3 separate regions of the Homo sapiens genome follow, and regions 1 and 2 are each linked to region 3. The links are contacts of gene promoters, found by promoter capture Hi-C in human tissues and cell types (Jung and others, 2019). All regions are on one chromosome and are shown on one strand. The core of a region is centred on a gene start or on the middle of the fragment in contact, and the rest is flanking DNA. Distances in the headings are between cores, read along the strand shown.

What was found. Contacts are between HindIII fragments. The study calls those that stand out against the background at their distance.
Region 1: a fragment that was not itself captured here is called in contact with the fragment with the promoter of OR1M1 in region 3 in 6 of the 25 tissues and cell types used here (dorsolateral prefrontal cortex, heart left ventricle, lymphoblastoid cells and 3 more).
Region 2: a fragment that was not itself captured here is called in contact with the fragment with the promoter of OR1M1 in region 3 in 1 of the 25 tissues and cell types used here (thymus).

The regions. Positions count from the first base shown.
Region 1 is chr19:9,240,215-9,244,237 of GRCh38, reverse strand. It overlaps a transcript of OR7E24 not described here. Among named protein-coding and RNA genes, the nearest start is that of OR7E24, 8.7 kb to the left of the region's middle. The HindIII fragment of the contact is 9,125 bases long and covers 1-4,023 here.
Region 2 is chr19:8,847,489-8,851,481 of GRCh38, reverse strand. MUC16 (mucin 16, cell surface associated) reads left to right here. Exons shown (of 94, transcript NM_001414686.1): 93 at 127-206; 94 at 2,452-2,638. The coding sequence ends at 2,550. Among named protein-coding and RNA genes, the nearest start is that of MBD3L1, 17 kb to the right of the region's middle. The HindIII fragment of the contact is 5,188 bases long and covers 33-3,993 here.
Region 3 is chr19:9,084,704-9,088,721 of GRCh38, reverse strand. It overlaps OR1M1 (olfactory receptor family 1 subfamily M member 1), which reads right to left and starts at 1,661. Exons shown (of 2, transcript NM_001004456.2): 1 at 1,565-1,661. The HindIII fragment of the contact is 13,481 bases long and covers 1-4,018 here.

The sequences.
Region 1 (4,023 bases), core at 739-3,238, 160 kb before region 3:
TTTTTCAATTTACCTTAGAATTGTACATTGAGTTGGATAATAGTAACAAAACCTGCTAGGCTTTGGAGAGTGGATTCCCAAGGTTTTTCAAATACACTGTCTCATTGGAGCCTTAGTACTCCTGATCAAATAAAGACAGACAGATTTTTTATTTTGCCAGTGAGAATCACAGTCTGGAGAGGCTGTTGAATCCCAACACAGTGGTCACTGATGGGTCTGATACTGGAATTGGGTCTGTGTCCACCAGGCTGTGGGGCCTTTTCCAGAAACCAGGCTCCTGCACAGGGACTGGGGCTGAAGGAGGGACTCTCCCGGGAGGAGGCAGCCTGGTGAGAAGGATGCCAGCAGAAGTCTCAGGCCTCTAAGGCCTCCCCTCCTTCCCTGGTCTCTGCAGCTGAAGTTGCATCAGGAAGCTGTATCTTCTAACTGCTTGAGGCAACTTCTCAGATAAACCCTCTGAGGTGAATCCATAAACTTTTACAACTTGCACTTTCAAAGGATGATGCAAGGAGCAACAATTGCACCAGCTTGAGCCATTTGAGGGTGGTGTGGAATTGGAAACTGTGTCAAAGGCAATGGAACCCTGCCTCTAGCATCAGAAAGCTAAGCCTGTATTCAAAATAGATGCCTGCCAGGTGCAGTGGTTCACACCTACAATCCCAGTGCTTCAGGAAGCCAAGGTGGCCAATCCTGGTTTGAGGCCAGGATTTCAAGACAAGCCTGAGTCACATAGAGAGACCCCCTAACTGGGTGTGATGATGCATGCCTGTAGTCCCAGCTACTTGGGAGACTGAGGAGGATCACTTGAGCCCAGGAGTTCAAGATTTCAGTGAGCCACTGTACTCCAGCCTGCACAATACTGTGAGACACTGGCTCAAAAAAAAAAAAAAAAATGCCAGAGCAACATAAAATTGTAAGCATTCATTACCTTTCTGCCACCATGCATTGGGGAAAGTGGATCCCTCAGCTGATGCTGACCATTGGCAGACAGGATGGTGTGTGTGGAGATGGCGGGAGGGTCTTAGGGATGTGGGATGAACCCTGACACCATCTACTACCCCATCCTTCACTGCAGACCCAGTTCTACCAGTTCTCATCAAAAGGGTGAACTGCATCCCAAACACAGTCCACATTCTGTGGCTTCCATTCCTGAAGACATCTCCAGAAAGTCTCAGAAGAAAATTAAACTATATGAGAGAACAAATCTTTTCTATCGTATAATTATTACATGTTCTACAATCTGGGGTTAGATCATAAAACTGCAATTATGGGAAATAAAGGTCAAATAAAGAAGGAAAGAAAGAAAGACAAGAAGGAAGGAGGGAATGAGAGAAGAAAGAGGAGGGAATGAGGGAAGAAAGAGGAGGGAATGAGGGAAGAAAGAAGAGGAAAGGAAGAAAGTAAAAAAGGAGGGAGGGAGGGAAGAAAAGGAATAATCACAAAGAAGGAAGCAACGTCTCAGTTATTCTAGGCAGTTCATTACTATGAATCATCAGAACAAACAAGCTTACAAATCTACATTCCTAATTTGATGTGAAAAATCACATCACTGTTCTTATGAAATAAAGGATAGCAAAGTTGGAGTGTGGTCTCAACGTCAAGTTGCCAGGTTATAGTTCACCTCTATCTGCTTCTTCCTTTGTGGAACAAGGTGAATGAGAAAAGACATGTCAAAGAAATGTTTTCAGGGCCAACTGTGGTGGCTCATGCCTATAATCCCAGCACTTTGGGAGGCCGAGGCAGGTGGATCACTTGAGGTCAGGAGTTTGAGATCAGCCTGGCCAACATGGCAAAACCCCATCTCTACTAAAAATACAAAAAAAATTAGCCAGGTGTGGTGGTGCACACTTATAATTCCAGCTACTTGGGAGGCTGAGACACAAGAATTGCTTGAACCCGGGAGGTGGTTGCCGTGGGCTGAGATAGCGCCATGGCACTCCAGCCTGGGTGACAGAGTGAAACTGTGTCTCAAAACAAAACAAAACAAAAACAAAAAGAAAGAAATGTTTTCAGGATTAAATAAAGCCATACATGTAAAGCAACAAGCACAATCCTAAAAGGGAAACACGTTGCCTTGACTATTGTATGATTTTCATCCAATTTCTTCCAGAGGAAACAAGAACACAACCAAGTTTAGGTGAAGGGTGCTAACATGCAAATGGGTAATTTTTGAGGAAAGCATGTCATCATATCAGCACTCGATATGATAAGTGTTTCAAACAACACGTGAGAACTCTCAAGAGTGGCTCTAAGAAAATGGACCAAAGATGGAACTTTAAAGACTGTATATAAAACGGAAAAGTTAGAAGGAAATTACCAAGGGAGTTACTGAGAGAACCTAAAGTAAAAACATGTAGCAAAAGCCAAATCACAAGTGTTTTGGGAAGAGTAAAAATGAAGCATGTGATTTTCAGGAGAAAAAGAGCCAGGATATTTATTTCTTGTTTTCTTTTAGTTTTGTAGTTGTTGTTTTTGAGACAAAGTCTCACTCTGTCGCCCAGGCTGGAATGCAATGGCGCAATCTCAGCTCACTGCAACCTCTACCTCCCAGATTCAAGCAATTCTCCTGCCTCAGTCTCCCAAGTAGCTGAGATTACAGGCACCCACCACCACACCCAGCTAATTTTGCATTTTTAGCAGAGATGGGGTTTCACCACATTGGCCAGGCTGGTCTTGAACTCGTGACCTCAAGTGATCCACCCACCTCAGCCCCCAAAGTGCTGGGATTACAAGCATGAGCCACCAAGCCTGGTCGAGCCGGGATATTTAAATTCACATTTGCCTAATGGACCTACAACATCCACTTAGTTCTGAGACCTTGATCTGTCATGGACAAGAGGCTGGTCTGCTGAGGAACTGAATGTTCATGAGCAGGGCTCTGTCAAACATAATCTTGCCTTTGTGACCTTTTTATAAACCCAATGATCTCTCTGACAACCACCACTTAGACAGATTGAACCCTAGGCTAACACATTCTGCTGCCAAGTGGATGTTATTAATAAGGTGTTTCACAGCACAACAAACTAAACCCTTCCAAGAACAAACTCGATGCAAAGGAAAGTAGATTGAACCCTACTTTCTGCCATGTACAAAAATCAAATCAAATAAAAAACAGATCAACAGGCCTGGCGCAATGGCTCATGCCTGTAATCCCAGCATTTGGGTGGCCGAGGCGGGTGGATCACTTGAGGTCAGGAGTTCAAGACCGGCCTGACTAACATGTGAAACCCCATCTCCATCAAAAATACAAAAATTAGCCAGGCGTGGTGGCGGGCACCTGTAATCCCAGCTACCTGGGAGGCTGAGGCAGGAGAATCACTTGAACCCGGGAGGCAGAGGTTGCAGAGAGCCGAGATCACACCTCTGCACTCCAGCCTGGGTGACAGAGAGAGACTGTGTCTCAAAATAAATAAATAAATAAAAAGTCAATAGCTTAAATATAATGTAGCTAAAATCATAAAACTCTTAGAAAAAAACATACAGGAATATCTTGATTACACTTTATTTGGAAGCAGATTGTTAGATACAACAGTGAAAGCATGAGTAACAAAACAAAAAAATAGATATATTGAACTTCATCAAATTTTAAAACTTTTCTCTATCAAAATGTTCTGTTAAGAAAATGGAGCATGGTACCAATAGAAACACAGATACAAAGGACAATGGAACAGAAGAGGTGGTGCAGAAATGAATCAATGAATTTATGGCAAATCATTTTTTGACAAAGATGCCGAGAACACACAGTGGGGAAAGGACAGTCTCTTCCATAAATGGTGCTGGGAAAACTGGAAAACCACATGCAGAGGAATGAAATTAGCTCCTCATCTCAGGTCTCAGTAAACCTGAAAATGCAAAACCACTAAAAGAAAACATAGGAATAATCCTCCATGAAATTACACTGGGCAATGATTTTTTGGATAAGAACCCAAAACACAAGCAACAAAGGCAAAAACAGAAAAATGAGATTGCATCAGGCTAAAAAGTTCCCACACAGCAAAAGAAACAATCTATAGAGTGAAGAGA
Region 2 (3,993 bases), core at 1,377-3,876, 240 kb after region 3:
GGCATGAGGTGTTGAGCCACTAAGCTCTCTTCCCCAGGGCTGTGCCCATCCTCAGGCCACATAGGGTCCAAGAAGGAGCCCTGGGACGTGGCAGGAGGTGGCTCACCCCAGCCCTTGTCTCCCCAGACCTTCCCTTCTGGGCTGTCATCCTCATCGGCTTGGCAGGACTCCTGGGAGTCATCACATGCCTGATCTGCGGTGTCCTGGTGAGCAAGGAAGGGTTGCTTGTCTTCTTAACAATTGGGTTGTAAGAGTTCTTAATATATTATAAAACCATACTATACTATACACAAGTCCTTTGCTGGATATATGTTTTGCAAATATTTTCTCCCAGTTCACGGAGTGGCTTTCCTATTTTCTTTTTATAATTTTATTTTTAATTAATTGACAAATAATGAATGCATATATTTAGGGGATACAATGTGATGCTTTGGTATATGTACAATTATGGAATGACTCAATCAAGCTAATTAATATGTCCCTCACCTCTCATACTTATTATTTCTTTGTGGTGTGAACATTGGCAACCTATACTCTTAGCAATTTTGAAATCTACATTATTATTAACTATAGTTACTATGTTATGCAGATCTCAAAAACTTCACAACCTATATGCTGATTACAAGATATTGAGAGAAAAAGTGATTGCAAAGAGTGTAAATAAAATAATGTAAGAGGGAAAAATGTAACAAAATTAGTCGTTAGGGAAATGTACACGGAAGTCACAATGAGAGGCCACTTTTCACAAGAATGGATAAAATTGAAAAGATTGACTATAACAAGTGTTGGTGAAAATGTGACAGAACTGGAACTCTCATAAAGTGAAAGTGGAAAATAGCTTGGCCATTTCTTTGAAAATTACACACACCTACCGTAAGACCCTACCATCCCACTACTAGTAATTTATCTAAGAGAAATAAAAACATATGTCTATATGAAGACTTGTACACAAGTAAATGTTCATAACAGCTTTGTTTGTAATAGCCAAACTCTGAAAACAACCCTAATGTCCATTAACAAATATATCCTGACAATGGAATATTATTCAGCAACAAAAAGGAATTATTAATACATTAATAAATTATACAGCAACATGTATAAATTGCAAAATAGTTATGCCTAGTGAAAGAATCCAGATGAAGAAAAGAGTACATGCCATATGATTCCCTTAATAGACAAATTCTAGAAAATACAAACTAATCTGTAAGGACAGGAATCAGATCAGCGGTTGCCTGGGAATGAAAATGTGTTTGCAGTGGCAGGGAAAAAGGAATTGTAAAAGAGCAGGAAGAAAGTTTTTTTGTTGTTTTTTTTTTGTTTTTTCTTGAGACAGAGTCTTAGTCTATCGCCCAAGCTGGAGTGCAATGGCACGATCTCAGCTCATTGCAACCTCTGCCTCTCGGGTTCAAGCGTTTTTCCTGCCCCAGCCTCCCAAGTAGCTGGGATTACACATGCGCACCACCACACTCAGCTAATTTTTGTATTTTTAGTAGAGACGGGGTTTTACCATGTTGGCCAGGCTGGTCTCGAACTCCTGACCTCAGGTGATCCACCCGCCTTGGCCTCCCAAAGTGCTGGGATTACAGGAGTGAGCCACCATGCCTGGCCAGGACGAAAGTTTTGGGGATGATGGATGGATGTTCCTTATGTTGATTGTGGTGACGATTCAATAAGTTATGATCAGAACTTATCAAAACATTCACTTTAAATGTGTGCAGTTTATTTTATGTCAGTTATGCCTCAGTTAAGCTGGACAGATGTAGAGGAGGAAGGGAGGGAGAGAGGGGGCTGAGATCAGGACCAAAAGCCAGAGAGAAAGAGACTGAGAATGAGATGAGAGAGAAATGGTATTTAGACAGAAGACAGGCGATAGATGATTGATAGTTGACAGATGATTGGTGGATAGCTGATAGGTAGATGATAAATAGATTATTTTGATAGATAATTGGTAGATAATAAATTGATAGGTAACAGATAGTTGATAGATATTGATAAGTAGATGATAAATACATGATTGATGGATGACAGGTGATTGATAGATGATTGATGGATTATAAATAGGAGATGATTGAGAGGTGAGAGATAATTGATGGTTATTGATTGGTAGATAATTGATTGACAGGTTGATAAATATTGATAGCTAGATGATAGATAAATAGATCATTGGTAGATATGTGATATATTGATAAAGAAATTCAGAGGCAAAAGGAGAGAGAAATGAAGGGGATATCGGAGGGGGAAAAATTTTTTTAAACCGAGAGTGAAACAAGGAGACAGAAGAAAAGAAAGTGGTGAAAAGAGGAAAAGAACTGAGGGAGAAATTAAATGAAACAATGAAGGGAGACAGAGGAAGCATAAGGCCTCTGGCTTTGGCCATATTCTCACCCCTGTGGTCTCCTCTCCCTGGACGGCTGACCAGTCCATTCTCACGCCTCCTCCTCACCCTCATAGGTGACCACCCGCCGGCGGAAGAAGGAAGGAGAATACAACGTCCAGCAACAGTGCCCAGGCTACTACCAGTCACACCTAGACCTGGAGGATCTGCAATGACTGGAACTTGCCGGTGCCTGGGGTGCCTTTCCCCCAGCCAGGGTCCAAAGAAGCTTGGCTGGGGCAGAAATAAACCATATTGGTCGGACACAGTCTCTGAGCCTTCCTTGACGTGACCCCTGACTGGTTCATGTTGGACTAAGAGAACAGTCTTCCACCTTCGTGAAGTCCCAAAGGCAACTCTCAGTTGTGTGTTGTGGTTTCGCACCATGTCATCCCTTGGGAACACCAGAATTGGTGAAAATGATTGTATTAGGCTGTTCTTGCACTGTGATAAAGAAATACCTGGCCGGGCGCAGTGGCTCACACCTATAATCCCAGCACTTTGGGAGGCCCAGGCGGGTGGATCACTTGAGGTCAGGAGTTCAAGACCGGAGCCTGGCCAACTTGGTGAAACCCTGTCTCTACTAAAAATACAATAATTAGCCAGGCATGGTGGTCCACGCCTGTAATGCCAGCTACTTGGGAGGCTGAGACAGGAGAATCACTTGAACCCAGGAAGCAGAGGTTGCAGTGAGCCAAGATCACGCCACTGCACTCCAGCCTGAGTGACAGAGCGAGACTCTGTCTCAAAAAAAGAACAAGAGAAAAAAAAAAAATACCTGGCCAGGCTCGGTGGCTCACGCCTGTAATCCTAGCACTATGGGAGGCCTAGGCAGGCAGGTTGCTTGAGTCCAAGAGCTCGAGACCAGCCTGGGAAACATGGCAAAATGCTGTCTCTACAAAGATTTTTAAAAATAGCCAGGCATGGTGGTGCGTGCCTGTAGTCCCAGCTACCCAGGAGGCAGAGGTGGGAGTATCACCTGAGCCTGGGAGGTTGAGGCTGCAGTGAACTGTGATTGTACCACTGCACTCCACCCTGAATGACAGAGTGAGATCCTGTCTCAAAAAAAAAAAAAAAAAAAAAAAAAAAAAAAACAAAGAAAAAAGAAATACCTGAGACTGGGTAATTTTTAAAGAAAAGAGGTTTAATTGGCTCACAGTTCTGCAGGCTGTACAGGAAGCATGATGTCAGCATCTGATCAGCTTCTGGAGAGGTCTCAGGAAGCTTCCAATCATGGTGAAGGCCAAGGGAGGGCCAGCATGTCACAAGAGAGGGCCAGCATGTCACATGGCCAGAGCAGGAGCAAGGGAGAGTTGGGGGGAGCAAAGGTGCCACACACTTAACCAGATCTCACAAGTACAGACTCCCTGTTGCAAAGGCAGCATCAAACCATGAAGGATCTGCCCCTATGACCCAAGCACCGCCTACCAGGCTCCACCTCCAACACTGGGGATTACAATTCAACATCAGATTTGGTGGGGACACATATCCAAACTACATTACTGATGATATGGACAGGAGACAGGGAAATACTGGGTAGAAGAGGGAGGTTCCCCAGCAAAGGCCCCACCCTCAAGCCTGGAGACCTGTGGCCCTAAATGGGAACAGACAATCCTGTT
Region 3 (4,018 bases), core at 412-2,911:
TAGAGATGGGGTTTCACCATGCTGGCCAGGCTGGTCTTGAACTCCTGACCACAGGTGATCCGCCCGCCTCGGCCTTCCAAAGTGCTGGGATTACAGGTGTGAGCCACCGTGCCTGGCCGAGTCAGAGTATTTTTCCATCTCAAGGAAGCCAGTGAATGCTCTGTGATTAAACTACTAATGGAATCAAGGAACTGATCTCAGACATCCTCCTGCCCTGACACCTAAGCTTTCACTGAATTACTCTGTCACTCCTCATTCTTCCACAGCTCTTGGGAAAAATTTAAGTATCAGGAACCCGAAGATTCATCCCTTAAGCTTCTTGATGAGCCTCTCTCCAAGGAAGCACCAGTCCTATCCTATCTGGACCTCTGCACTCTGTGTCTAAGATCTCTCAGCCTGGAATACTTGGGAATCTCCAAGGGCTTCCAAGACCCAACATGGGGAATAACACAAACTTCTGCCTACAGAAGTACTGAGGAGGAAGCCATCTGTTCCTTCAGGCACTCAAGTGGGCTTGGAAAAGAAAGTCCAGGCTGGGCGCAGTGGCTCATGCTTGTAATACCAGAACTTTGGGAGGCTGAGGCGGGTGGATCACCTGAGGTCAAGAGTTGGAGACCAGCGTGGCCATTATGGTGAAACCCCAGCTCCACTAAAAATACAAAAATTAGCTGGGTGTGGTGGCGGGCATCTGTAATTCCAGCTACTTGGGAGGCTGAGGCAGGAGAATCTCTTGAACCTGAGAGATGGAGGTTGCAGTGAGCCAAGATCATGCCACTGCACTGCAGCCTGGGTGACAGAGTAAGACTCCATTTCAAAAAAAAAGTCTAGTTACGAAGAAAAACAGTGCTACAAATAATCATGGTTTTTAGGTAAAGGACTGGTAGCATCACAACTAAACCAGGCTGAGCTAGTTTGGTAAGAAGAGCCATTGGATTCTGGGCTGACAAGTGGGTGCTGATTGACCAGACAGAATCTTCCAGTGTCGGCCGAGCACAGTGAATTCCAGTACTTTCGGAGGCTGAGGCGGGTGATCACCTGAGGTCAGGTGTTCGAGATCAGCCTGACCAACATGGTGAAACCTTGTCTCTACTAAAAATACAAAATTCACAAGGCATGGTGGTGTATGCCTGTAATCCCAGCTACTCGGGAGGCTGAGGTAGGAGAATTGCTCGAACCTGGGAGTCAGAGGTTGCAGTGAGCCAAGATCGTGCCATTGCACTCCAGCCTGGGCAACAAGAGCAAAACTCCATCTCGGTGGGGGAAAAATGTTCAAAAAATCAGCTGGGTGTGGTGGCACATGCCTGTAGTTCCAGCTACTCTAGAGGCTGAGGCAGGAGGATTGCTTAAGCCCAGGAGGTAGAAGCTGCAGTGAGCTGTGATTGTGCCACTGCACTCCAGCCTGAATAACAGAGCAAGGTTCTGTCTCTAAAATAAATAAATCAGTAAATCAATAAATAATAAAAAAGAATCTTCCAGTGTATCTGAGATCATTGAGCTTGGCTTCATTAATTTTACCAACATTCGTTCAGTCTCTCTCTCTCTCTCTCTCTCTCAGCTCACTCACTGGGCTATCTTTCCTCTTCTTGACACCATCACCCAGGCATGAGTTAAACTGGCTCAGTGTCCTCCCAGCAGGTACTAGATGATGAAGTTAGATGTTTGGGCCAGCAGATGCTACATAGAAATACTGGGAAGTTGTCCTCCTGGTCCAAAGAAGAAAAGCTAGGGTGGGGGATAAGTTGTAGGAACCGAGGGAATATTTACAATTTCTGGGCCAATAAGAAGTCAATTCCCCAAGCTCCTTGTTACACAAATTGTCCAATTTCATCTCTAGTCCCTGAATAGTTCTGTTTCCTATGGGGGCTGGGACGTGGCAGTAAGAAGCATTTTATGTCTTCATGAGGCAACTTAGGGGTAAGTTGCATGATTCCTAACTTTCTCTGCACCCTCTCTTCCAGGAACAAACTCTCCCTGTCTTCTAAACTCAGTCTTTCCAATGCCCAGGGCTTCTTATATCAGAAGGTTCCATTCTTATTGGAAGCCAATGTTCCTCATCACTTAAAGAATTAAGAAATGGCCGGGTGTGATGGCTCACGCCTGTAATCCCAGCACTTTGGGAGGCTGAGGCGGGTGGATCATGAGGTCAAGAGATTGAGACAATCCTGGCCAACATGGTGAAACACTGTCTCTACTAAAAATACAAAAATTAGTTGGCATGGTGGTGCACACCTGTAGTCCCAGCTACTCAGGAGGCTGAGGCAGAAGAATCGCTTGAACCCAGGAGGCAGAGGTTGTGGTGAGCCGAGATTGCACCATTGTACTCCAGCCTGGGCAACAAGAGCGAAACTCCATCTCAAAAAAAAAAAAAAAAAAAAAAAGAAAAGAACTAAGAAACACTCCAAACATTTTCCCACGTCCACCCAGTGATCTGTCACCAAGACCCAGGGCTGCCTGCTTTCATCACTCAACCTCAACAGAACAACTCTCTATAAAGGGATCATGGCTTTCATTCAGTTCTGCAAAAGGAGAAACTAGAGCCTACCCTAATGGATGTACATGGAGAGAGTGGTTGGCTGACTAAGTCTGCAGCCAGATTCTCACTGAGTATTGGGACCATGGTGGCATTACTGGGAATTTTCAGGAATTTGGTTTTATAAGGTCATGCCCAGATTATTGGGTTGTGTCTACTCAGTAAACACTCATGAAACTGATGGATACATGAAGGCTCAGTTTTTCAAAGCCTTTAGCTATGTAAAGAGCAAAATACTAGGTTGAGCCATATGCAATTGTCAATATTCTACCATTTTTGATCAACAAAACTGGCATTTTTTTTTTTGGTATGCCTCAGCTTCATATAATGAAATCCTGTGTGCCCAATCACTCAGCTTCCACACCTACCAAGTCAAGCCTCTGTTGAATCTGTGTCCTACCTACTTTGACCTCTCTCTTCCCAGAGATAATTTCAGAGCAAATTCCATATGTATAATGATTTTGGTATGTCTTCAAAAAACAAAAAGCTCTTTTTGAAAGCATAACCACAATACCATTATTATTATTATTATTTTGAGATGGAGTCTCGCTCTGTGATCCAGGCTGGAGTAGAGTGGTGCAATCTTGGCTCACCGCAACCTCCGCCTCCCGGGTTCAAGCGATTCTCCTGCCTCAGCCTCCTGAGTAGGGAGGCTCCCAAGTTGTATTTTTAGTAGAGACAGGATTTCACCATGTTGGCCAGGCTAGTCTTGGACTCCTGACCTCAAGCGATCCACCCACCTCAGCCTCCCAAAGTGCTGGGATTACCGATGTGAGCCACTGCGCCTAGCAATTATTTTGATTCAAAATATTAATAATAATTATATAACATTTTCAAATACCCAATTATTATTCAAATTACCCAAATTGCCTCATATATTTTTAGTTTTTTACATCAGAATTCATATAATGTCCATAGATTGCAGTTGGTTGATTACTGTTTTAAGTCCTTTTAATCTATAGGTTTTTCTGTTTTCCTTTCTTATTTTTGAACAGGGTGTCATTCTGTCACCCAGGGTAGAGTGCAGTGGTCTGGTCATAACCCACTGCAGCCTCCAATTCCTGGGCTTACATAATCCTCCCTCTTCAGCCTCCTGAGTAACTGGGACTACAGGTGTGTGCCATCAATCCTGGCTAATTTTTAAAAAATTTTTAATGTTTTATAGAGATGGGGTCTCGCTAGGTTTCCTAGGCTGGTCTCAAACTCTTGGCCCCAAGGGATTCTTCTGCCTCAGCCTCCTAAATTTTTAGAAATTTGGTTTTATGAGGCAATGCCCAGATTATGGGGTAATGTGCTCACTCAATAAACACTCATGAAATAAAAACCTTTCATGATAAAAATTCTGAAGTGCTGGAATTACAGGTGTCAGCCACCACACCCAGCCAAAAGCTCTTGTTTCTCTTTTACCTATTACTTCTTTAATGCTTTTCCTTTATTTACGTAGATCTGAGTTTCTGACCTCTATTATATTCTTCTCTATAAATTACT